Regions from separate parts of the Homo sapiens genome. Here regions 1, 2, 3, 5, 6 and 7 are each linked to region 4. Evidence: promoter capture Hi-C in 16 types of primary human blood cells and fetal thymus (Javierre and others, 2016). All regions are on one chromosome and are shown on one strand. Each heading gives the region's core, a stretch centred on a gene start or on the middle of the fragment in contact. The rest is flanking DNA. Distances are from core to core; before and after follow the strand shown. Region 1 has its middle 41 kb from the start of WDR36. Region 2 overlaps STARD4 (StAR related lipid transfer domain containing 4). Region 3 overlaps WDR36 (WD repeat domain 36). Region 4 holds the start of SRP19 (signal recognition particle 19). Region 5 has its middle 5.6 kb from the start of CAMK4. Region 6 overlaps CAMK4 (calcium/calmodulin dependent protein kinase IV). Region 7 has its middle 30 kb from the start of CAMK4.

Region 1 (3,595 bases), core at 547-3,046, 1.7 Mb before region 4:
TGTCCAGTGGGATTTCTCATTCTACTTTATAGAATGAAGGGCTTCCCTGATGAATGGTGGATAAAAGGCAATTAAATTTATAACTAAATATGTTGTAATTTTGTCTTCTGACAAGCTAAATTAGCATTATATAGTCCAATCAAAGTGCCCAGAGAGAGCCAGGTCACTGAAACAAGATTTTACTAATGTCTCTGCCTGCAAGGCCAATGTTAATATTTTTTAAATTATACTTTCTAACATTATTTAGGACTCTTGACTGCAAATTACAGAAATGTTATGTTTAAACAGGAATGGAAATTTAAGAATTCAGGAATACTGGATTATCTAATAATATCTTTGTTTTCCGGAATTTTTTTGTGATCTGTGACACTGAGAAATTCAAGAAATACTCTTTGAATTCTGCTTTTCTTTGCAGAGTGCTGCATTCCTTTGATTGTGTATTTCTTCTGCAACTAGTGCCTGCCAAAGGCAGTCAACAATCCACTTGATGTGCAGCCTCTTCCTAAAGTCCAAGATTGCACACTGGAGACTAAAAACCCTCCCTTCTGGGTCCTAAGTCTTCCCCCTCACTTATGACACTTCCCTTTCTTCCTCTGAAGGAAGAGGAATCCTTCTGTTTTCTTTTTGTAATCTTTTCACCATCCTCCAGGGACAAAAAAGCTTCGCCCCACCCCCACACACCCCCACCTTCCTGTCTTCATGTTTCTTATAACTCTGTTATGCTAAAGGGAAGATTACATTTTCAGAGGATGGAAAGCTATCATCTCACTGAAAAATCCCATTTTTGAATGGTAGATTATGAGTATTCGCATAGTATTTCACCTTACAGCCCTGCAAAACAAAATGGTAGTCCCCTTCTAATATGACAGTTGCGTCAAATCTCAGAAAAGGTGATACGTTTGGAAAGGCAAAGGAAGAAGACCACATCACCCTTTAAAGAATTATTCTTACACATTTTTGGTCATTATTAGCCTTATTTAAGCTCTGCAGACTCTCTTGTTTTCTGCTGTTAATAGTTTGAGATCCTGAAAGTCTCAAGCCAAAATTGTTTCCAAGAGTAATCTCACTGATTCAGATATAAATTTAATACAATATAAGGCATATACCTTGCAGTCCTTCCCCCATTAAGGCTAAGCCATGGGACTTATTGCAAGGGAAAGGGAGCAGTGATATTAGAGAAGGTCACAGTATAGGTCAGTAGTTCTCAAAGTGTGTTTCCCCAATTAGCAATATCAACATCACCTGGGAACTTAGAACTGCAGGCCCCACTGCATAACTACTGAAATAAAAACTCTGTGGGTAGGGGCCAGCAATATGTATTTTAACAAATCTCCGTTTTGGTGACTTAATATAACTGAACTTAGAACTGGAGAAGGGAAAAAAGAAGGCTATGAGGCATAAGGTTCTCACCTATGTTCCCACTTGGTTCTAGGAAGAAACCTGAAGGAAGGAAAGTGAGCAAAAGGGTTAAAGATTTTGTAGGCCCTGGCCCCAGATCTAGAAGTAAAAGGGGAAGTGGGGATGGAGGGTTAGTTGGAGAAATCACTGGGTACATTAAGTGGAACTCCAGAGTTGTGGGGCTAGGTCCTGACTCCCCTGGAGGAGACTGGCTCACAAGCCCTCTATCCTGACACATGGTGGCCATAGTCAAGGGGTGTGACTTAACTTAGGTGGCAAGAAATGACTGTGACAGCTCACAGAGTTTCCATGACTGTGGGTGACACTGGGAGGGATCTGGAGGTTTCCACCTGCTCCCTGAGGGGAATGAGGGAGGCAGCTGGGAGTAGAATGCCAACAGGCCTGCCATAGAGCCCCAGTGGCAGAGTGTGGACACACCATCCTGGCCCAGGGCCCAGCTGGAAGATAGGCAGAGACTCAGGGCACAGGCTAAGTGGGACTGTGGTCCTGGTCGGGGGAGGTGAGAAGAGGGTCTGGCAACACAGAAGGCACTCACACATAGTGAACCTTCCTTTGTGAGGAAAGAAACAGACATGGTAGGGAATTTGAACATAAAATCTCACAAAATATTTATCCAAAAGAGACTAGGCTAATGTGAAAGAGACTGAGATACTTTTTAATTGGTAATTTTGTTCCCTACCCTAAATCTAGTAATATGAGGGCTCAAGATGAAATTTAATCATTTTGATATATAAAATATTCTTTAGGGATCTTTCTTTCAGTATCTGTGTACTATATGCTGAATTTCCCAATTCCAACCATGCTAATTTCCATTTCCAGCTGAATCTACTAAATGTCTCTGAAAAGGTACGTAAAATATTCAATACTTAGTTTTATCTCTGTGTTGTTAGTGATTTATTGACACTGCAGACATGTAGATAACAATAGTTTAATGTCCTCTGAAAACACAAAAATTCCATAAATCCTTGCAAACAATTTTTAGCAATATTGTTTATTGCTACCACAGCCAAGAATGGATATTTCAAAGCCGGGGGTTTTGTTCTGTTTTGTTTTGTTTTGTTTGGCTGCCCTTTTTTTCCCCCACTATCTCTGGCTAAATTCCAGTCTTTACTATTAATTTATTTTTTCTCATTTGAACTTTCCAAGTATGATGTCTGCCTCATAACTCTGGCCCTGTTTCCTCACTCCTGGCCACACTCTATTCTCTAGAGTAAATATGATGCAAGCCCATTGGGTGACTGAATGGTGGGTGAGAGTGAGTTATCGAAGCCTGGACTCACTTAACCATGTGGATTTAGTTTACAAGAAGCATCATATACCAAACAAAGGAGTCACATACCCGACAGCCTCCCCACCCAGCTCACAGCGCTGTGATCACTCCTCTTTCCTTCCTTCAATCATTGATTTATTCATTCTATCTTCAACAAATACTTAGCTCTGACCCTGTCTCAGATGCTGTTCTATGCTCTTGAGATACTTTAGAAAACAAAACATATAAAAATCCCGGTCCTATGAAGCTTGTATTTTAGCTCATTATTCTTTTATATTCTTTTGCTTAGCCTTTTGACTTGCTCTCTTTTAGAATCAAGATAAAGAAGAAGATGTTTCTAGGCCTTCACACTCTGCAAAGAGTGACTGCCAGGAGTTTCTCCCTTTATTTCAAAATGTGGCATACGTGGGTGTGTGTGTGTGTGTGCACGCACACGTGTGTGCACGTGTTTGTGTGTGTGTACAGGAATTCCCAAATAGCCTCCATATGAAAAAAAAAATGCCTGCATGCTGCTTCACTACCATTCTTGTTTTAACAAAGGGCTTGGTAACTTAGAAAAGCAGTGCATATGAAGAAGTAAAACAATTAAGGAGGAAAAAAAACTGGTTTTTTTTTTCCCTTGGAAGACTCCACCTCTCCATTCTCTGGCTGATAATAGATGGCCAGGCATAGGGAAGCAGAGACTAGGAATTAGCCTTGTAGTTTGTCAGACGTGGCTCCTGGAGCTGAGGGCCACCCCCCAGGGGCCTGGGTGCAGTTTTAGCTCTTGGCACACTGCGTGGAAAGGTGGAGGCAGGGGGCAGAGATGAGATGTTCATCTCTGTTGCTGTGGTGACAAGGAGGTGAAGTGAAGGTACTTCAAAAATGTAAGCTACAACACGTGAGGAAAAAGGTGCCTGTGGAACT
Region 2 (3,382 bases), core at 615-3,114, 1.4 Mb before region 4:
TACATTTTATTTGCTGACTTAAGAGGCCATTCTTTAGGTTCTAGTTGCCATGAGCCTATTCTCTTGTCTAATATCCAAAGAGCTAATGAAAGCAGTATAGGATTACCACTGATGCATTTCTTCCTCTGTGTGACATTAGACTATCAACTTTATTAGCTCAATTATTTTTCTTGCATATCCATCCAAAGTATGGTCTTTGTCCATATTGTTCCATTTAATTTTAAAAGTCATCAACCAATTCATTAGATAGAAGATATACCCCAAATATAAGTAATTGAACTAATTTACCGTTTTCTTAGCAACTCGCCACTTATCTTCTTCAATGCTATGGTACTGGATGAGAGTGTTTTTAAGTTTAGTTGCAAAAGAAGCAACATCAGACAGGCCTTCCATTACTTCTCTCTGTTATGGAGACCAAGATTAGCATCAGCAAATACCACAGTTTGAGGCAATAGGCCAGTGGGTCTCGAATCTGGTTTCACAATATAATAACCTACCAGAGCTATAAAAGATAGCTACCCTCACCCCAAATCAACTAATCATAATCTCTGAGAGTAGGACCCGGGCATAGTTTTTTTCTAATTGCTCCCAAGATGAATAACCCATAGCCAGAGGTGAGAATTACATATTTTTTACAATTAAAATCACTCATACAGAAAGTAGAAGAGAAGACAGGAGGAAGGGGAAGCAATTGTATCTCATATATAGATATGCTGTTAACTCTCAAACATTTACCTCCAGTCCTCTTTGTTTCAATGAGCTCAAAAATCCCAGATCCAGAAGCCTACTTAAAGCTTCAAGCCTAAAGGGAATCTCTTGCCTCCCCTGGCTTCCCTCAATTTGTCACAGTATTCCTCATTTTAACAATTTACTATTAAAATGGCAATTGAGCCCAAGTTCTCAAGTCAAAAGGCTTGGAATTGCCCTTAATAAGAATAGGTTCCTTTTAACACCATCATACCTCATTGTCTACAGTATTCTACACTGGTTTTCTTTCTGTCCCTCAAACAGGCTAGCTTATCGCTGACTTGTGGTCTTTGATACGGCTAGATCCCAAATCTTAGCATCACTAATAACAATGTAATGCCAATTTCAGTTTAAACCTCCTATCCTTCATAAAGCCTTCTTAAGTTACTATTACATCGTTATTTTCTTCATAGTGCTTATCATTATCTGACAATATAATAACTTATTTATAGGTGTATGATTCTACTCTTTGACCACCTCATTCCTAACTAATAGCATAGAGGTCCTTTTCTTATTCACCACTATAACTCCACCACCTAGAACACTGCCTGGCACATAGTAGGCCCTTATTTTGTTGATATGTTATTGTCTCAAAACAAGAATTACTTGGTCTTTGTCTTCTTTTGGTGCCAGGGCACCAATTTCTTAGCATAATTCCTACTTTTCACTATTCTATCTCTATTCCTCCCATCTTCAGTAAAAGGCTAAAGAAGAAAAGAGTTTTAGGGGTAAAGTTGCCCATTACAGAACCATCAAATTGCTGGAAAGGAGGTCAAGAAAACATCTAAATGAAATCTCCTAATCTAAATGAAATCACCCTCTATGGGAATAAGGCTGCAGTTGTCAACTATGGATGCACACATCAGAATCACCTTTTTATGCTTTGTACTAGTTGTCGCTGCTTTTAGGTGTTAGATTTTAGGGCCCAGTGCCAAATAGTCTAATTCAGTGGCTTTGTTCTGGAATGGGCCTCAGAAATGTAGGTCCTTTAAAATAGTCTCACTAATTATTCTGTTGTCTAGCCAGAGATCAGAACTAACTGATCTAAAAATTAAAGTGACAGAAATAAATTAAGGTTGTAGCCAATATTTAAATACCACTAATTAGAGCATATAAGCCATTAAAATTTATAAATACTAAAATTATGTAGAAACATGGGAAAGTATACAAAGAAAATTCAATATAACTTTTAGGATCTATGTAAGTGATGCAAAATATATAATAAGTATAGATCCAATCCACGGATGAAAAGTTGATGAGCTCATTCAAAAAGTCTCTCAGTCAAGAATATACCTAATTTCCATTCAAGAGGCTGTCAACTTGATAGCCAGTTCAATAACTTTATTCAAGAGTATGCCACAAACAAGCAGAAGTTCTTGCAGAAGGCTTGTAAAAGAGATTTAATTTATCTATTACAGGGATCACTATGATTAAACATATTCTTTAAACCCAAAGGTCACCTGCTAGGTTCCTGTGGTTGGCAGATAAGAGTATTTATGCAAAACTTTTTGATAGAAATCAAAGGTGAAACAGAAAGTTATTATTATCATAAGCAAACATTATCACTGGGCAAATCCAGTGCACGGAAAGTTACCTAGAAAGCTAGCTACCTAGAAGAGATGAGAATCTGCAACTTTAAGGTACTTGACTTAGTAATTCATACTGATCAGTATAAAGTTCAAGCTCCTTACTATAGCTTACAGGCCCTTTTATAATGTGGCATATTTTCATTACCTAATTTCCACTTATCTTTCCTGGATTCCCCTGAACCTGGGTTAGTTCCCCCTCCAATATTTTCTGACAGCAACTCTGTACTGTAATTATTCACTTGTTATCTTCTCCCGTTTAACTGTAAAATCTTTGGGGGGTAGGAAATCTGGCTTGTTCAATATTAATTCTCCTTACGTCTAGCACTCAGTAGGAACACAGTGAATAAAAAATGGAAAAATGTATAGACAATAAGCTACCATTCTCACTTATGGAAGACCTCAAGATATCTAAAGTATGCCCATTTACGCCAATCCTAGAGCTTCTGAATAACTAAAACTTCCTTTACCATAATGAAACACCATTTCTCAAGAAGGACTACTATTAAATATTTATCAAGCATCTATTATATACCAGGTCCTAGAACTACAGAAACAGATGGAATTCAGATTTTACTCTCAAATTGACTTATTCCACCCTTAAGCTTTAACAGAAATAACAACAACAAAAACTAAAACATTAAAAAATTCTATTAATAGCCTTTTTAAGAGTGGTGCAGTGGGAGGTAGGAAAGGAAGAGAAAGAAGTACAAAATCAGAAAGCTCTCTCTGATTAAATATGTCCAGCAATGTATTTAACCAAACAGTTAAGTCTTGCATGGATTATTTTCATCAAGATTAAGTCCATAATGAAATAATCATTGCCATCAAAACTGCTACCTCTGTGTAAACAGGCATAATTGAGCATTTCTCAAAATATTAATATATTCTAGAACCAAGAGGGTTGGGGGAGATGGGTTATCAAGGTCTTGGCTCTCTCTCCTAATATAACAGGGTACTGACATTAATTGAGAGGAAAACACCTAATTTGCCCTCCTGCAATCTCCAACTGTGGAGAATGTCAGGTAAATGTTTTAAATGCCATTCTG
Region 3 (3,517 bases), core at 990-3,489, 1.8 Mb before region 4:
ATATACCATCTCGCTAGGATATATGTAGTTGCACTGATTGAATTGGGTGAGGGAACTAGGTGTGTGTGCATGCCTCCTCTCTAACCCAAGATGGAAGGCAGAGCCTCAGAGGTCTCATTTCTTTGTTCTTAATGGACAGTTTACTTCCTTATTGTTGAACTGGCTGAGGGAGCAGATGAACATGCCTGGTCCCTTAATATTTATGTGTTCATCCTAACCTTGAATAATCAAAAGTTGGGGTACATTTCTTAACAGAAGCATCTCAGGATTAGCATGTTTTTGGGATAATATGAATAATATGACATGATGACTGAGTAATAATATGAAATTCTTTTAAACTTCGATGTTTTAGATAGTACATACCTTTAAGGGTCATAAGGCAGAAATCCATTTCTTGCAACCCTTTGGAGACCACATTATCTCTGTTGATACTGATGGCATTCTTATTATTTGGCACATATATTCAGAAGGTAAGAGTTAACTCATTTATTTGCTTTATCTTAGGGTAGTATGTGTTTAATTAAAATTTAAAATCTATGTAAACATCTATGCCAGAGATTTTGCCTGTAAATAGTAAGAAATTAAAAAAATCAAAAATCTTTAACGTGTAAGAAAAAAAGTTCTAAGTAAGAAAGAGATAAACAACTTTAGCAAGTTAACTACTTATAAACTGTTTAATGTGCTTACCTCAACTAATGTATTTTCCATTGCAGTTCTCCAACTTTAATGATTTGTTGTATTGTTTTCCCTGTGGAGTGAATATTGATGTATTTTCATACCTGAGTAATTCTTGGTTTGTATTTTCACCTTTTAGTAAAGGAGACTGTAATAGTAAACTTGATCTTGTAATCTGAAGGAAAATATACATCCATTTCCTAGGGATATGAGTCAGTTTCTTTCAACTGTGATAGCTTAGACAGTGGCTATGTTTATGGGATTATGTATCTTTAAACATGAAGAATTTATCCCTAGGATATCTACACCTTTCCTCAATAAAATACTGGGTTCATCATGAATTGAATCTTTTAAGTTCTTTAATCTGGTTACATTTTTAGCTTATATTGCCTCTTGGTTTTTTTTTGTTTTTTTTTTTGTTTTTTTTTTTTTTTTTTTTTCAGTAAATATCCTGAAGATTGCATTTCTGGGAATTATTCCAGGTTCTTGTTTCAGATTAGTAACCCTTTTCTTGTTTTGTTTTTGCTCAAGTAGAGGGAGGGAACAGAATTCCAAAAGTATTCCCTGTGCAGATAGAAGTTAAAAGGGCTTTTATTAGGTTACAGGATCTGGTTCTTACATTCCAGCAGACTCTCTTGAACCAGTATATTCAGGGAGCCATTTGTAGTGACTGACGAATAAAGGCAAGGATCTCTTAAAATAGCATTCAAAGTAAAGTTTATATAATTTTCACCTATACCTGTACATCCTAAACTGTGGTACCCATACCCTGGGATTGTACAGTAGTGTGCCAGATAGTATGTGAACCTAAAGATTAAGTGAAATGTACCTTCTTTGATACACAAATTTACTGGAAAATAGAGTGGAACATTGTTTTAATCATGGAGGAACTGTAAAGTGAAAAGCAGAATTCAAACATAGAAATTTTGAATGTAACCAAAGATTTCAGAGAATTTTTTTATCTTGGAGCAAGTGACCACTGGTGATGCCACCCCCCACTCCACAGGGTTATACGTTTTTTTTTTCTCCTTTATTAGAGATTATTTTGTGGAAATGTGTGAGAAGTACTCTTATTTCACTGAGGTGTGTCTTTTATTTTTGGCATTTTTTGAGTGGCCCATCAAACTTTCCAGATAATTGGCTCTTCGTTCCCTGAAAGAGCTAAGTATAAGCACTTCACTTGGAATATTCACTCCTGTCTGTTGATCAAATTACAGAAACATGAATGCTAATCCTTAGGATCTTTTTTTTTTAACTTTATTATCCTTTTCTGTAAAGTAATTCAAAAGTGAATGAAACTTTTAATAGTATTTTTATTAGAAGTTACAGAAAATTTTTGACAGTCTAAATTAAATTACATTTACAAGTTGCCTCTCATTTATTTTATTTCTCAAGGAATGTTTATAGATTAGTATCTAAGTCTGTGGTTTATTTTAACATATAAATCTTTGATGTGATAGACTTACTTTAAGTGATAAATATATGGTTACATAAAACATTTTAAACTATTTTATAAAAAATATTTATAACTTTCACTTTTGTAGAAGAATACCTGCAGTTGACTTTTGATAAATCAGTATTTAAAATTTCTGCAATTTTGCATCCAAGTACCTACTTGAATAAAATACTTCTGGGCAGTGAACAAGGAAGCCTGCAGTTGTGGAATGTAAAATCCAAGTAAGTATTTTAGTTAGAAAATAATATAGCTGTCACCTTATCCTCATCTACTACTTCCTAATGTATACTTAAGTCTCATTTCTCCCTGCCCTTGTATATTTATTTGGAGGGTTGTCTATAAATAACAGTTGGTCCCCTGTATCAGAGGAGTCAATTAACCTGGGATCAAAAATATTCAAGGAAAAATAAATAAATAATAATACAACAATAAAACATCACATTTTAAAGTAGTACAGTATAACAGCTATTTACATAGTATTTACATTATATTAGGTCTTATAAGTAAGCTAGAGATTATTTAAAGTATATGCATAAATGTGTGAAAGTTATATGCAAATACCACACCATTTTATGTAAGGGACTTGAGCATCTGTGAATTTTGGTATCAGCAGAGAAGTTGGGGAAGTCCTGGAACCAATCCCCCACAGGTAGTGAGATATAACTATATGTTTGCTTTTGGAGTTGTTGCTGGTGGCATCACATATGTGAAAGGTGGCATGTGATCCTGACACATGTTAGACAGCTTCATAAATGCTCACTGAAAAGTATGTACTAATGACCTAATAACTGTAAAGAATTGCTATAGAGAAGGCTCTAATAAAGGTCTATGAGATCCATCAGAAAATAATAATAATGAGATTATTACTAGGGAGCTTCTGATTTTCCATACATGAAGATTTTCTATACATGAAGAAGGTAAAAGATGGAAAGGCAAATCAATAATTTAGTGCTAGCATTTAGAAATGATTTTTAGGGTTAAAAGTACTTCCATAATCTCCCATAGATATGGCAAATATCTAATATTGATGTAGCTAGAGGGCTGGATACATGATTTTGAATACTTCTATCCATTATGTAAACATTTATCAGTAGAAAAAGGTGGCAGCTCACACTTCTTTGTATAGCATTTTAAAAAGCAAACAAAAATATTTGACCATCCAAATTGTTTTTTTCCAAAGTCCTTTTAAATTCAAAAGGGAAAATAAGATTATTAAAGGTTTGATGTTTTAAATCAGTGTTTCATTACAATTTAACAAATACCATTGACTGCCTACTTTGTGCTAGGTTCAGCAATAGTGACTGAAATACTGTCTTTGCCCATTTACAGAATTTAATACATGATTTAATATTTTAATGATAATTATAATGATTTCAGATACCTCTG
Region 4 (3,652 bases), core at 1,056-3,555:
ATTTTGGGTGCTACATCCTAGATGGCATCTTTTTCCAATAGAAGGCTGTTTTGTCTACATTGAAAAACCTGTTGTTTAGTGTAGCCACTAAATGGGGCAGCTCTGAAGCCAGACATTGACTTCTCTCAAAGGGACAAGGATTTTGGGTGCTACATCCTAGATGGTATCTTTTTCCAATAGAAGACTGTTTTGTCTACATTGAAAAATCTGTTGTTTAGTGTAGCCACTAAATGATACTAGCTAATCATTGATCATCGTCAATGATATTAGCTACATTTTCTGGATAACTTGCTGCAGCTTCTCTATCAGCACTTGCTGCTTCACCTTGCACTTTTATGTTATATGTTATGGAGATGGATTCTTTCTTAAACCTCCTGAACCACCCTCTACTAGCTTCCCACTTCTGAAGCTTCCTCACCTTTCTCAGCCTTCACAGAATTGAAGGGAGTTAGGGCCTTGCTCGGATTAGGCTTTGGGTTAAAGGAATGTTGTGACTGGTTTGAGCTTCTATCCAAACCCCTAAAACTTTCTCCATATCAGCAATAAGGTTGTTTTGCTTTCTGATCATTTGTGTGTTTATTGAAGTAATTTCCTTTTAATTCCTTCAAGAATTTTGTCTTTGTATTTACAACTTGGCTGTTAGGTGCCAAGAGGCCTAGCTTTCAGCCTATCTTGGCTTACATATGCCTTCCTCACTAAGCTTAATCATTTCCATCTTTTGACATGTGAGACGTGTGACTCTTCCTTTCACTTGAATACTTAGAGGCCATTGTAGGGTTACTAACTGGCCTAATTTCAACATTGTTGTGTTTCAGGGAATAGGGACTCCAGAAGAGGGAGAGAGATGGGAAATGGCCAGTTGGTCGAACAGTTAAAACATACACAACATTTATCCATTAAGTTCCCCATCTTATCTGGGCATGGTTCATGGTGCCCCAAAACATTATTATTATTTGAGACGGAGTCTTGCACTGTCGCCAGGCTGGAGTGCAGTGGTGTGATCTTGGCTCACTGCAACCTCCACCTCCTGGGTTCAAGAGATTCCCCTGCCTCCCGAGTAGCTGGGACTAAAGGCCTGTGCCACCATGCCTGGCTTATTTTTTATATTTTAGTAGAGATGGGGTTTCACCATGTTGGCCAAGATGGTGTCTATCTCCTGACCTCGTGATCCACCTGCCTCGGCCTCCCAAAGTGCTGGGATTACAGGCGTGAGCCACCGCACCCGGCCTTAAAACTATTACAATAGTAACAGCAAACATCACTGATCACCGATCACCATAACAGAAATAATGAAAAGGTTTGAAATATTGCAAAAATTACCAAATGTGACACAAAGTATACGCTGCTGGAAAAATGGCACCAAGCAACTTCTTTCAGGCGGATTTGCCAAAAACCTTCCATTTGTAAAAAGGCAGTATCTACTCGCAGCAGCAAGTGAAGTGCAATAATGAAGTATGCCTGTAGTGATGGCACATGGTATCCTTCAGAAGTTTTAAAAGGTGAATAGTTTTGTTTCGTTTTTCCTAGACGGAGTCTTGCTCTGTTACGCAGGCTGGAGTGCAGTGGTGTGATCTCAGCTCACTGCAACCTCCACCTCCTGGGTTCAAGTGATTCTCCTGTCTCAGCCTCCGAGTAGCTGGGATTACAGGCGTGTGCCACCACACTCGGCTAATTTTTGTATTTTTAGTACAGACGGGGTTTCAGCATGTTGGCCAGGCTGCTCTCCAACTCCTGACCTCATGATCCACCTGCCTCAGTCTCCCAAAGTGCTGGGATACAGGCGTGAGCCACCGCACCCGGCCTAAAAGGTGAATAGCTAAGTTTCTAACGCAGAGCACACTGAAACACAACGTCTATAACTTTGCTAGTTCTACCACTACAAAAATCCATTTTGCCAAACTGAAAGCAAGCTCTAGAGCCCAGGAACGGAGAAAAATTAAACGTAAGGAGTATTTCCTTCCCTGTCTAACATATATTTGCATCCTGAACCACACAGATTCCCCTCGTGGCACAGTCTTCGCCCCTTAACAGAGAGTAGCTAGTACCACCCATACTCGCTGAGAAACTGGAAACGAGGGAGGGTCGAAGTTAAACCCTTTTTAGTGGCGGTGCATGCGCCCCACATGGTCTTCCCGGCTTGGGAAAGGAATGAGAAGCTTTCATGATTCTCTCGCGAGAAGGGAAGTCTTCATGCCACGTCAGAGACTAGAGATCCTGGCGCCGAGCGACAGGTGCCGGAACAAACAGGCGATGAGAAATCGCGGACGCGGAACCATTTCTTGGGCAGGACTTCCGGCGGAAAAGCGGGCTGTCTCGGAAACTCAGAGCCGGGTTCCTCCCGGGTTTCTGCCGGGTTTCTCCCTGCGGCTCCTGGGTTGTTGAGACTCTTGTGAAGATGGCTTGCGCTGCCGCGCGGTCCCCGGCCGACCAGGACAGGTGGGTTCTGAGGCGGTGGGTCCTCCGAAAGGAAGGGGCTTGCTGTGGTGCTGCAGGTGCTACACCGCGCTTCTCCGCTCCGCGGCCTCCAGAATGGCCTAGCTGATCCAACTCGCTCTGTACGGGCCCCGCGCCTCTCCCTGGCAGCTCGTTTTTCTGAATCCTGCAGCAGCCACCAGGCTCTTCTCAGGGCTCCTGAAATTCCGACCATAGGTAGCCTAGTGTTTATCTGTACGCGAGACAAGGATTTTGGGTGCTACGTGGACATGATATCAAGTAATATAATCACAGTGTGAGAAATGTGTTCTTTTTAAGTATTGTTGCGTTCAGAAAGGCTCATTTGTGAAATTTTAAGGTTTTTAATACCTCGGACACTTTATATAAGAGGGCGGGCCCATTCTCAGGAACTTTTGACGGGCTGCTCTGTCTAATGTAACAGTTACCCAAGTCGTTTTGTTTCTATTCCTGTGGTTTTTTTCCATCCAAGGTAGTGGATAAAGTTTATTTTTAAATAAGTTAAAGTGAGGTAATTTAAAGAAATAACATTAAGCAAATAATAGCATAGGTGTACCAGCAATGATGACGACTACCACGGACCGAAAGAATGTATTTTTGAAAATACTTGTTATCTGTTGAGTGTAGTTGTCCAGGTTCTTGGCGTTTTGAATAAGGAATTGAACAAAACACACAAAGCAAGGCAGCGAAAGCAGATTTATTTTAAACAAAAGTACACTCCACAGGGTGGGAGCCGGCTCCAGCAAGCTACCCAAGAGCTGTTGGTTACAGAATTTTCTAGGGTTTAAATACCCTCTAGACGTTTCCCATTGACCTGTGCCAGTCTGATTGGTTGAGGGAGGGGGATCAATCAGAAAGAGGAGTAGGCCCGCGGCCAGTCTGATTAGTTGCTCGAGGGGACCACTCCGAGGTACTTTGATTTTTCAACTGCCACGCAGAAAAAGGAGGGGTTGAAAAGGGAGTACCCATCTGATATCTAGGCAGCATGAATTGGCCTTTGGTTCCCTGCCACCCGACCCTTTTCTCCTGCCTCTTACTGCTCTAGTGATACCACTTATGCTATTGTCTATGGCAGGTTTATTTGTATCTATCCTGCTTATTTAAATAATAAGAAGACCATCGCAGAGGGAAGGCGAATCCCCATAAGTAAGGTAAGCAAGATGGCTGGCACCTTGATCCTCGAGGGAATGGGGGGTGTCAT
Region 5 (3,449 bases), core at 124-2,623, 1.6 Mb before region 4:
TTTCACTTAGCAATATCTGGTAATTTTAACTGTAGATGATTTGGACATCTTCTGTTGAATTGATTCCTAAGTATTTTATGCTTTTTATTCTATTGTAAATGAAATGGTATTAGTGAATTTTCCTATCATTTCCTATTAGTATTTGTTTTATATTGTGATTGTTTTATATTGACCTTGTATATTGTGACCTTGACAAATTCACTGATCAATTGTAGTAGTCTAAACCAACTTTTAGAATTTTCTATATAATAGTCAAGTCATCGGTACATGACAACAATTTAACTTCTTTCTTTCCAATATTAATAACTTCTAATTTTACCTAAGTTAGAGCACTGGCTGTGCCTTTAATTTTAATTGTTTTTATTAAGATGTAACTTAGGTACAATAAAATTTATCAATTTAAAAAGTATAATTCAGAGTTTTGACAAATGAATAAAATCCTGTAATCACCACCATAACCATGATATAAAACCTTTCCATCACTCCCCAAATCCCTTAGAGTCTTTTGCATTTGATTCCCTCCCACTTTAGCCCTGGAGAACTACTGATCTGCATTCTGTCACTTCAGTTTTGCCTTTCCTTGAATATCATATAGAGGGAATTATTTGTAGTATTTTGTGTTATATATATAACCCTCCTTGGGTTATTTATTTTGTTCAGTGAAAAATCCACCAATAGTTGTATGGCTAGGGGCAAAATAGACATAAACCTATTTCTCAACATTCTGGGAGCGTGTGCCCTCAGGGGTCTCGCTACTTATCGTGCAGAGTTTCACTTAATCTCTCTTTTCAATATGGCCTCAGCTGTATCTTCTGACCTAAAACATATTTCGTTCCTTGTTCAACATTTACAAAATTAAATATATTATCTTCTTCTAGGCTTTGGTAGGAGTGTTTTTTGGCTGTGAATTGTTAGAAGAGGTAATCCAGGAAGCCTAAAAGCTTTAATTTAAAAAAAGAATTTGTTATGAATACATAATATTTGCACTTATTTATGGGATACATGTGATATTTTTATACAAACATACAGTGTGCAGTGATCAAATCAGGGTAACTGGAATATCCATCCCTTCAAGCATTTATCACTTCCTTGTTGTTAGAAACATTCCAATTCCACTCTTAGTTATATTGAAATATGTAATAAGTTACTGTTAACTATAGTTGCCCTATTATGCTACTGAACATTAGATCTTATTCCCTGTATCTAACTGTATTTTTGTGCTCATTAACTATCCCCTATTTATCCCCTCCTTGCTATTACCCTTCCCGTCCTCTGATAGCCATCATTCTACTCTCTATCTCTAAGAGTTCAATATTTTTCTTAGCTTCCACATATGAGTGAGAACATGCAATATTTGTCTTTCTGTGCCTGGCTTATTTCACTTAATGTCCTCCAGTTTCATCTGTGTTGTTGCAAATGACAAGATTTCATTCTTTTTATGGCTGAATAATATTTCCTTGTGTATACATACTACATTTTCTTTATCCATTCATCCACTGATGGATACTCAGGTTGATTCTTTATCATGGCTGCTATAAATATGAGAGTGCAGATGTATCTTTGATATACTGATTTCCTTTCTTTTGGATATATACTTAGCAGTGGGATTGTGGACCACATGTTAGTTCTATTTTTAATTTATTTATTGTTTTGAGGAACCTCCATTCTGTTCTTCACAGTGACTGTACTAATTTATATTCCCACCAACAGTGTACGAGGGTTCCCTTTTCTCCACATTCTCACCAACATTCATTATTGCCTGTCTTTCTGATAAAAGTCATTTATTAGAAAGATTGTATCTCATTAGAAGCTTTGGGTCACTGAGCCTGTTTAATGGTAGGTTTCACTCTAAGGTGATTTTCTGATAAAAGTCATTTATCAGAAAGACAGGGGTGAGATATTTCCTTGTTTTGATTTGCATTTCTTTGATGAATAGAAATTTCTTTATATAGTTGTTGGCTATTTGTATGTTTCTTTTGAGAAATGTCTGTTGAGATCTTTTGCCCATTTTTCAATCTGATTTTTTTTCCTGTAGAGTTGTTTGAGTTTCTTATATATTCTGGTTATTAAACCCTTGTCAGATGGATAGTTCGCAAATATTTTCTCCCATTCTGTGGGTTGTCTCTTCAGTTTTTTTGATTGTTTCCTTTGCTGTGTGCAGAAACTTTAGCTCGATGTGATTCAATTTGTCCATTTTGCTTTGGTTGCCTGTTCTTTTGAGACCTTACTCAAGAAATCTTTCCCAGACCTATGAAATGGAGTGTTTCCCCAATATTCTCTTCTAGTAGTTTCATAGTTTCAGGTATTAGATTGAAGTATTTAATCCACTTTGACTTGATTTTTGTATCGTGAGAGAGAGGGTCTAGATTCAGTCTTCTGCAAATGGACATCCAGTTTTCCAAGCACTATTTATTGAAGAGACTGTCCTTTCCCTAATGTATGTTCTGGGTGCCTTTCTCAAAAATGATTTGACTGTAAATGCATGAATTTATTTCTCGGTGCTTTCTTCTGTCCTACTGGCCTATATATTCGTTTTGATGCCAGTATCATGCTCTTTTGGTTACTTTACCTTTGTATTATAATTTGAAACCAGGTAATATGACACCTCCAGCTTCCCCCTGCCCTGGCCTCCCCTCAGGATTGCTTTGTCTATTTGGCTTCTTTTGTGGTTTTACATAAATTTTAGCATTATTTTTCCTATTTCTGTGAAGAATGTCATTGGCATTTTGATAGACATTGCATTGAATGTGTAGATTGCTTCGGGTGGTGTGGGCATTTTAAAAATATTGTTTCTTCCAATCCATAAACATAAAATATCTTTGCATTTTTTTGTGTCCTCTTCCATTTCTTTCATGAATGTTTTACGGTTTTCATTGTAGACATCTTTCACTTCTTTGGTTAAGTTTATCCGTAGATATTTTGTTTTATTTGTAGCTATTGTAAATGGGATTACTTTTTCATTTTCTATTTCAGAAATGCTACTGTTTTCATATGTTGATTTTGTATCCTGCAACTTTACTGGACTGATCAATTCTAATAGTTTTTTTTTTTTTTTTTTTTTTGGTGGAGTCTTTAGGCTTTTTTAAATATAAGATCACATCATCTGCAAGCAAGGACAATTTGACTTCTTCCTTTCTAATTTGGATGAAGGGGCCTAATAACTTTTTATAAAATTTTTTAACCAATGTTTTGTTCTCTGTTCTATGCCTCACCTTGAGAACTATCTGGTACTCTAACTTCTGAACATGTCTTGATTTTATAGTAGGGATTAGATTTCTTCTTATTGGCTTTTCCCATTGCAAATCTAGGTTTCTGATTTATTAACTCCTCTGTTACTGTTTGTTTACGTGTTCAAGATTCAGTTGACATCACTTCTCTCTTTCTTTTTGTGGGATGATAACCCTGTTCCTTTTCTGGTCATTTCAGTTGAGTTTTGATAAGAAGTAATG
Region 6 (3,815 bases), core at 857-3,356, 1.6 Mb before region 4:
AAGTTTCTGCCCTTTCCCCACTCACACCATTTCATAATTCCCCATCTCCAGTGTTTATGGTCTTACAGGTGAATGCTTTGTCGTCTTCACCACCAGAACATCTGCTTATTGGGCAGAGGAACCCCATATCTTATCCCTCTTTTATTCCTACTACTAGGCCCATCCCTCAGCCTAATGCCTGCCTCCCCTTAAGTGTTTCTGGAACATTATGTGAATGAACAAATGTCAGAGGAATTAGGCAAATAGCTGCAAGAAAATCAGCGGTACTTAAAACTGTCTTTCTTCAGGATGTTTTTTTCTATACGAACCCACTTCTAAACTAGCACACCGAAATTACTTGTTCAGTACGTGTCTCCCTCTCATTAGAATGTAAGCTCTTGAGGCTCTGGTTTCTGTCCCTTTGTTCCCTGCTGTGTCCCCAGAATCTTAGCACAATGCCTAGTTTATAGTGAACACTCATTACATATTTGCTGAGTAATATATCAGTTGCACCCATGGGGTTTCCACAATTGAAACTCCTTTTGAACCCAGGGAGCTCTGGTCTTTTGTCAGTCATCTCTATCTTAAAGAGCCCCCATCTCTAAGTGATCAGGGATACTGTCACCTTCTGTGAGGAGATTATCTACCTCTAAGATCCCTTCTAGTCCCAACCATGTGTGCACCTGCGTTTTCTTCCAGTTGAATTCTCTGGGCGATCACCTTAGTTCTTTATGTTGTTTAGGAGACAGAGCAGCTTTTGAAGTAAGTAGGGCTCTAAGCCTGAAAGGCTTTCTAAGTGTGTTGGAGGATCCTCACATAAATTTTATTCTCATTTTGTGCTTTCTAAATGCATCACCTTTAAAAAATGTACCTATTGTTACATTCACTCATTTGTACTTCCTGCTGTAGACTATACAAATGCTAGCACTAGTTGTAGATATCTAGGACAAGATTTAGAAGAAAGTATGTTTCCTGGCTTCCTCTACCCCTCTAGTTTTGCTTTTAGAAAAGAATCATTCTTTTTAAAAAGCTTGACTTATGACCTATTTGTGGCTATGTAACCAGTTAGCAATGTCCTGTCACATGGTTGGGTAACATATCCCCTGACTTGACCATAGGAGGGGAAGGAAGACCTAAGGAGAGGGTCTTGAAGGAGATAAGAGCATAAATAGTCTGTTCCATGTCTATCTATATTTGGGGATATTATTTAAAAGCCATCTACTGAAATGCTTAATCATCGATCAAAAAGAAATGCAGCTTGACATAACTTCCAAGTAGGGTTATTAACTTTACATTCCTGATGTTTATGCACTGTCAAAGTAATTATTCTGGAAATGTGTACCTTCCCATCTTTCTTTTGACAACCAGAGGCCAGGGGAGCGTGGTGAAAGGAAACTGTGGGTGGGAAGCAGAGAGGCAGACACAGGGCTGAGGGGCAGAAGGGAGGCCACTCCTTACCAGCTTTACTTCTTGTTTTCTGAGTCCAGTTACCCCTAGGCCCAGAGCACTTCTCCGTCCCCTCCTGATTTCTCCCTGTTTCCTTCATCTCTCCAGAGCCTAGGTACCAGTCATTTCCTTGTATCTGCCCATCTTATGGAATGAATGTTTATTCCTCCAAAGGCATGTATTGAGACCCTAACTCCCAATACGATGGGGTTTGGAGATGTGCCTTCGGCAGAAAATTAGGTTTAGGTGAGGTGATGAGGCATTAGTGCTCTTATTAAAAGAGTTGTGAGAGCTTGCTCGCTCGCTGTCTCTCATCACTGACCATGGAGGACACAGCAAGAAGTCTGCAAGCCTGGAAGAGAGTTCTCATCAGAACCCGACCACACTGGCACCCGATTGCAGACTTCCAGCCCTCAGAACTGTGAAAAAAATGTTTTTTTTTTTTAAGTTAAGCCACCCCAGTCTGTGGCACTTTGTTACCAGCCAGAGCAGAGAAAGACAGCCCTGTACCCTTTTCCCCCATTTGGCACCTGTCTGACGTCGCAGTTTGAGGAGTGATCTGCTCTTCTTTCTCAGATGCCTGACATTTCCTCCCAGATACTGGGTAAAGGAGGCCAGAACCCCACTTCACAAGGAGTAAAGCTCCTTACTTGTTTTATCTAGGATGGCTAAAGCTGACTCTCAGAGGCTCTTCTTTTTTTTTTTTTTTTTTTTTTTTTTTTAACAGGAGGTGGGCTCCCTAGCATGCCTCCACCTTGCCAGACCCTAGACTGGGACAATTCTTCTGTGGCTACATCCCCACTTCCACTCGTGCCTTCCAGGCACTAGCACCTTGGATCCCACTGTGCATCCGTACCTGTTGGCTTTCCAAGTGTCAATGCCTGCCAGCTCCTGGTACATTATTTCCTCAGCAGCTGGCACGGGATTTTTTGTTGCCAACTAGAAGCTCAGCTATTAAAAAATAAAACTTGGCGCATCTTGAGTATCATATGTTTTCATCAGGACTTGGATCTGTATTCTGGCACAGCTCACACGATCACTTTGGGGACCTCTCTCAGGACTAGGAACCCAGTATTCCTCTGGGTCTTTGACCGTGTTTTCACCTTATTCTGAATATATTCTCAAACCTTGAAAAACCTATGATGCTTACGATTAATTCGAGGTCTGTTTTACTTGTGTTTTGCTTGGTTTTATTGGATTTTTTTTAACCTTGTCAGTGTTTCTTTAGCACTAGGTTGCTTTCTCTGGCTGTTATTGTCAGTTTTCTATCTTAAATTATAAATTCCCGAGAATAAGATTCATGTTTCTCAGGTTAATGAATAGCTAACACACAACACTGAAATGGGGACCTTTACTGCATGTCTTTGCATGAACATGAGGTTATCCAAGAAGGGAGATTTTTATTTGCAGGGATTGTTAAATATTAAGATAAATGAAAAGGACAAGTTTTGGAGTTAGAAAGACCTGCAATAGAGTCCCAGTTCGGCCACTCATGAAGTGTGTCATTTTAGACAAATTTTCATTGAGCCTCAGCTTCTCCACCCATAAGAAGAGATAATAATGATTAAATGAGGTCAGTGCATTCATTATACACGGTAAGTGTCCAGTAAGCATTAGATATTATCGATATTAATTCTGGAATAGCTGTCTGTAAAGGTGGAGGGATTCTAGGTGATTGGATAGCACACTTTCTCAAAAATGTCATAAGATTCTAAAATTCTGGAAATGCGTTGGCAGGAGGCCTTAGTAATTCTCTGCTACTGCTTGCAGCTTCTGAGTAAGCTTTCTGAGCATCTAAGCTTCCCCTTTACCCAGGGGTAGTACATGGTGCAATATTTGTAAATATTTGACTACTGTTTTTTGATATTTCATGTATTGAAAAGAAGGTGTAGTATAACCGTAAGATTTTCCACATCTGCAGACAAAAGGAAAGTTGGGGTAGTTTAAAATAACTGCTGCATGTGGTTCTTTCTGTATAATTTTTAGTTTTTTTTCTTCTAAAAGGGTGTTAGAAAATATTAATCTTTTTGTTGCTTTGAGGTCTTATTTACACTAACTTTACCTCTTCTTCATAGATTAATTTTTCATTCTAAATGTTGCATTCTTCACCGGGAAGTTAAATAACCAAACCCAGAATCACTGCAACTTACCTGTGATTTAGAAATAGAGTTCTGGAAATCATTTAACAATCTAAAAAAAAAAAAACCCATAAGTAGTAAGGAATATTTGAAAGCAGTCTATTAGTTTGTGCACGCTGATAAAACAATACATCACATGGAAGAGACTTATATTTAAATGATGTTACTATTAGCCATACCTAAAAAATGTATTTCTCTAACGTGATACCTAAGTTGTAAAAGAAAGTTTGATTTCCAGTTTCATCTTACATT
Region 7 (3,825 bases), core at 698-3,197, 1.7 Mb before region 4:
ACTACTGCCTTCACCATGAAGCTCCATGAGCTTTCCCAATTCAAACTTGGGCTTCTTCAGCATTTTTACTTTTCTAACGAAGACATCATGGAGAGGATAAATAGGTTGGCAAGCCTTTTCTATGTCTTTTCCAATGCTGTCTGGAATCAATTTATTGACCACTGTAATTTGTCTGCACCTCTGGGTCTTTCAAGTCATTTGTCTGCACCTCTGGGGTCATGATTTCCATCATCTTCTTCCGGATTTGGCGGACCTGTTGGTGCTGAGCATAAGAGGTCTTCCGTATCTGATTGTTGCGTTTTTTAGTAAAACCAACACAGAACAGATGAAGCAAGTAACCATCGGTAGTCCTGACATCAACATGAGCTTCAATCATTGTCTGCCATTTTTTGACCATGGAACACATTTTATCACGGGTAAGATCCATGCCATGGAAGTTGCTCAGGCAGTTTTTGCCCTGAACATCTTCAGTAATCAGCTTGAATTTTCTAAATGCAACTTCATCATTCTGCAAATCAGCAAGACTCACTTCAAACACACGACCCTTGAGACCATCAGATGCAATTTTGGTTCCTTGGGTCCTGGTGACGAGCGTCTTTCCAATATTTCTTATACTGAACATAGCAGATGCTTTCACATCATACCAATCTTTCTTAGAAAATTGATCAACCACTTTCTTCTTGGCTCCCTTTTTGCCGCCTTTCGTAAGGCACTTGTTCTTGCCAACTGCCATGGTGCTGGTCAGAGAGCCAAAAAGGTGATATATTTTTATTTATTGATGAGGAGATATTCAAAAGGTATGAGGTTAAAAAAGTGAGGTTTCAAATGTGCAAGAAAATCTCACTTTTATTAAAAAATTTTATGTATATGTAAAAGACTGTTAAACAAACTAAGCATAATTATATTTAGATAGTTGAATTATAGGTGATTTTAGTTTTCCTATATTTTTATGAAATGTTATTTTATCATGAATAAAATACAATGAGATGACACACAAAAAATTTGTCAAGTCTACTTCATGAGAAGGATGTTACTTATAAAAAGATATATATTTGTCAAACCAAAACAAAATGGCCTCCTTATTGAAGAGATAAAAAAAATCCATATAAAATAAAACTTACTGTCATTTATTAATTATAGGAAAATTTAGCCTTCCTAATAACAACAAATAATAGGTATTAATGAAAATGAATAATGTTCAACTATAAATTCATTAGATCTAAATACAGTATTTATTCTTTCATTTGACAGAGAGGAAGAGCATTCTAAAGTGCTTTTCTCATTTATTTTATAGTTTTTGTTCATTTGAATAGGCTTTTGATATATTTGACTTACATAAATTATGGGAATGATGTCACAGTTCTTATGAGATGGTGTCAATTATCATTCCAATAATCTTACCCACCTCCTACCAATACAAAAAAGTACCAGAATTAAGAGACATAATAAAAATGTTTGATGGCATCCTCTTTCCCTTTTTTTTTCCTGGGATTTAATTTCATTGCATGAACTTTTATTTATACTATGATCTGGAGCAGAGTATGTAGAAGAGGGCAGGCTAGAATATAGACCAACATAGTGATCCTCTATGAAAGATTTTTGTTGAATTTACTTAAAAGCAAATTGTAAAACATTTTAAAAACTGGGGAACAGATATTTTAAAATAAGTAACTTACATTTTTACTTCTATAGAGCTGAGCAAAGGAATCAGGATGTAAAAGAAAAAAATTAAAATTAATATTATTATTTAAGACTATAAGCAATAGTTTAAATGTTAAAATAGATATCTGGAAAATATATACTTTAAATCTCACTTTAAACTTTTACTACTCTTGCCTTCCTCCTGCACCTCCAAGACAATCCAGCCAGAATCTGCTAGTTGGCTTTTTGCTGAAGCCATCAACCCACCAAGTAGGTGAGATCATTCCTCTGACCCCACTTCTTTCATGCTCCTTCCCCCTCCCAGAGGCAATACTAGATAGAACAGAGACCTGCTAAAACCACTCTCTTTCCTCCCTTTATCTTTTCCTTCTTTTTCTCTCCTCAGGAAGTAAAAAGGCATGGGATTTTCGAAACTTGCATCTCATCCATTAACAATACTAAAGGAGAAAGGAGTAAGAAGATTTTTCCTTAAGGCAGCAGCCTGGCTTACAAGATTAGTTTCCTAACATCATTTCCTATTTTTGAAAGGCAGATGCCAAATATTACCTTATTTTTTCTGGGAAAACGAAAAAAGACTATGCAATTTTATTGGAAGTTCAGATTTATTAATACTTACATCTTTTAGCTTATGTTTTCTATTTACCATGGCTTTTCTTTTTATTAATTGCCTCATATTAGCATAATTTAGTTTTCATTATTTTACTTTTTCCTCCTCTAGAGATGTGAATGTTGTGTATTCTATTTTTATTCTTTTAATATTTTAATATTTCAGATATATATTTGTAATATATTTGTTTTTTTAAGTTTCAAATTAATCAATAATTCTACCTACCTCCTATCAATACAAAACAAAATATTTTAAGTCTAATCGTTTCTTTACAATCTTCTGAGGATGTGCTTTCACATCCTCATTGAAATTTGCTATTTTCTCTCTTTTTCATTTTAGCCAATTTGGTGGATGTATAGTGGTGTTGCATTATGGTTTAAATTTAAATTTGCATTACCCTGATTGTTACTGAAGTGGAGCCCATTTTATATGTTTATTGATTATTTGAATATCCTCTTTCAGAAAGTATCTGTTTGTCTTTTATCTATATTTCTCTTCGGCTGGCTGCATTTTTCTTACTGGTTGGTAGGAGTTGTATATATTACCAGATATGAGTCATCCCCAATCTATGACCTGTTTTTTTGTAGTATGCACAAACGTGATATATTTTTAATATAATCCAATGTATCTATTTCTTCCTTTGACTTTTTGTCCCAGTTTAATAAATATTTGCTTACTTCACAGACTTGAAGATATTCTTCCATGTTTTTGTCTACAGGCTTTCTTTTGTTACCTTTTACTTTTAAATTTGCAATTCATCTGAAAGTGATTCCTGTGTATGGTGTGAGGTACAGGTCAAGATATATCACTTTTAATATGAATATCCAATTGACTAAATTATTTTTATGGAAAACACTTCAGTGTCATCTTTGCCAGAGAGTAAGTATGATTTTTTGCAATGTCCATTATATTCCACTGGTCAATTTGCTAATCTGTGTGCCAATACTACTTTTGTCTTAAGTAATATACCTTTTAATAGATATTAATATCTGGTTTTGTAATATCTCTAGTTTCATTCTTTAAAATTGCTGTGACTGTATTTAGCTCTTTGTACCTCTATGTGAATTTTGAAACCAGCTTGTCAGGTTTTTTTTTTTTTGAAAATAAATAAATAAAATACTTCCTAATATTTTGACTGGGACAGAACTAAATGTATATACTAATTTAAGAAGAATTGACATCAACATCTTTTCACCATGGAGTTTTCCAATCCATATGCATGGTTTATTACTCTTGTCATGCATTTCTTTTTTCTTTTTGAGACAGGGTCTTGCTCTGTTGCCCAGGCTGTGAATATGGCTGACTGCAGCCTTGACCTCCTGGGTTCAAGAAATCTTCTACCTCAGCTTCCCAAGTAGCTGGGACCACAGGTGCATACCACCATGCCCAGCTAATTTTTTAAAATTATTTTTGTAGAGATGAGGCCTTGCCATGTTGTCCAGGCTGGTCTTGAAATCCTGGACTCAAGTGATCCTCCTGCCTCAGCCTCCCAAAGTGCTAGGATTATATTTTATAGTTTTGAGCATAGAAATTCTTCCTACTATCTAATAAATGTA

The links. Contacts are between HindIII fragments. The CHiCAGO score rates a contact against its expected background, and 5 or more counts as called.
Region 1: a fragment that was not itself captured here is called in contact with the fragment with the promoter of SRP19 in region 4 in 2 of 17 cell types (M0 macrophages and monocytes); the score reaches 7.1 in M0 macrophages.
Region 2: a contact is called between a fragment that was not itself captured here and the fragment with the promoter of SRP19 in region 4, in 7 of 17 cell types (total B cells, naive B cells, fetal thymus and 4 more). The highest score is 8.6, in total B cells.
Region 3: a contact is called between a fragment that was not itself captured here and the fragment with the promoter of SRP19 in region 4, in 6 of 17 cell types (naive B cells, total B cells, monocytes and 3 more). The highest score is 9.4, in naive B cells.
Region 5: a fragment that was not itself captured here is called in contact with the fragment with the promoter of SRP19 in region 4 in 1 of 17 cell types (fetal thymus); the score reaches 6.5 in fetal thymus.
Region 6: a fragment that was not itself captured here is called in contact with the fragment with the promoter of SRP19 in region 4 in 2 of 17 cell types (fetal thymus and activated CD4 T cells); the score reaches 6.8 in fetal thymus.
Region 7: a contact is called between a fragment that was not itself captured here and the fragment with the promoter of SRP19 in region 4, in 1 of 17 cell types (naive CD8 T cells). The highest score is 5.1, in naive CD8 T cells.

The regions. Positions count from the first base shown.
Region 1 is chr5:111,131,697-111,135,291 of GRCh38, forward strand. No RefSeq gene overlaps it. Among named protein-coding and RNA genes, the nearest start is that of WDR36, 41 kb to the left of the region's middle. The HindIII fragment of the contact is 2,276 bases long and covers 659-2,934 here.
Region 2 is chr5:111,507,041-111,510,422 of GRCh38, forward strand. STARD4 (StAR related lipid transfer domain containing 4) reads right to left here. Exons shown (of 6, transcript NM_139164.3): 2 at 289-402. The coding sequence starts at 393. Among named protein-coding and RNA genes, the nearest start is that of STARD4-AS1, 3.5 kb to the right of the region's middle. RefSeq lists an enhancer at 2,144-2,263. The HindIII fragment of the contact is 2,144 bases long and covers 793-2,936 here.
Region 3 is chr5:111,098,370-111,101,886 of GRCh38, forward strand. WDR36 (WD repeat domain 36) reads left to right here. Exons shown (of 23, transcript NM_139281.3): 4 at 353-470; 5 at 2,220-2,352. Among named protein-coding and RNA genes, the nearest start is that of WDR36, 7.8 kb to the left of the region's middle. The HindIII fragment of the contact is 7,608 bases long and covers 1-3,517 here.
Region 4 is chr5:112,858,982-112,862,633 of GRCh38, forward strand. It overlaps SRP19 (signal recognition particle 19), which reads left to right and starts at 2,306. Exons shown (of 5, transcript NM_003135.3): 1 at 2,306-2,436; 2 at 3,527-3,602. The coding sequence starts at 2,396. RefSeq lists enhancers at 2,071-2,365, 2,124-2,203, 2,304-2,603. The HindIII fragment of the contact is 2,166 bases long and covers 2,155-3,652 here.
Region 5 is chr5:111,217,059-111,220,507 of GRCh38, forward strand. No RefSeq gene overlaps it. Among named protein-coding and RNA genes, the nearest start is that of CAMK4, 5.6 kb to the right of the region's middle. The HindIII fragment of the contact is 869 bases long and covers 940-1,808 here.
Region 6 is chr5:111,236,690-111,240,504 of GRCh38, forward strand. The region is part of intron 1 of CAMK4 (calcium/calmodulin dependent protein kinase IV); the gene reads left to right. Among named protein-coding and RNA genes, the nearest start is that of CAMK4, 14 kb to the left of the region's middle. RefSeq lists a silencer at 975-1,074. The HindIII fragment of the contact is 2,198 bases long and covers 1,008-3,205 here.
Region 7 is chr5:111,192,310-111,196,134 of GRCh38, forward strand. It overlaps the pseudogene RPS3AP21. Among named protein-coding and RNA genes, the nearest start is that of CAMK4, 30 kb to the right of the region's middle. The HindIII fragment of the contact is 4,835 bases long and covers 1-3,825 here.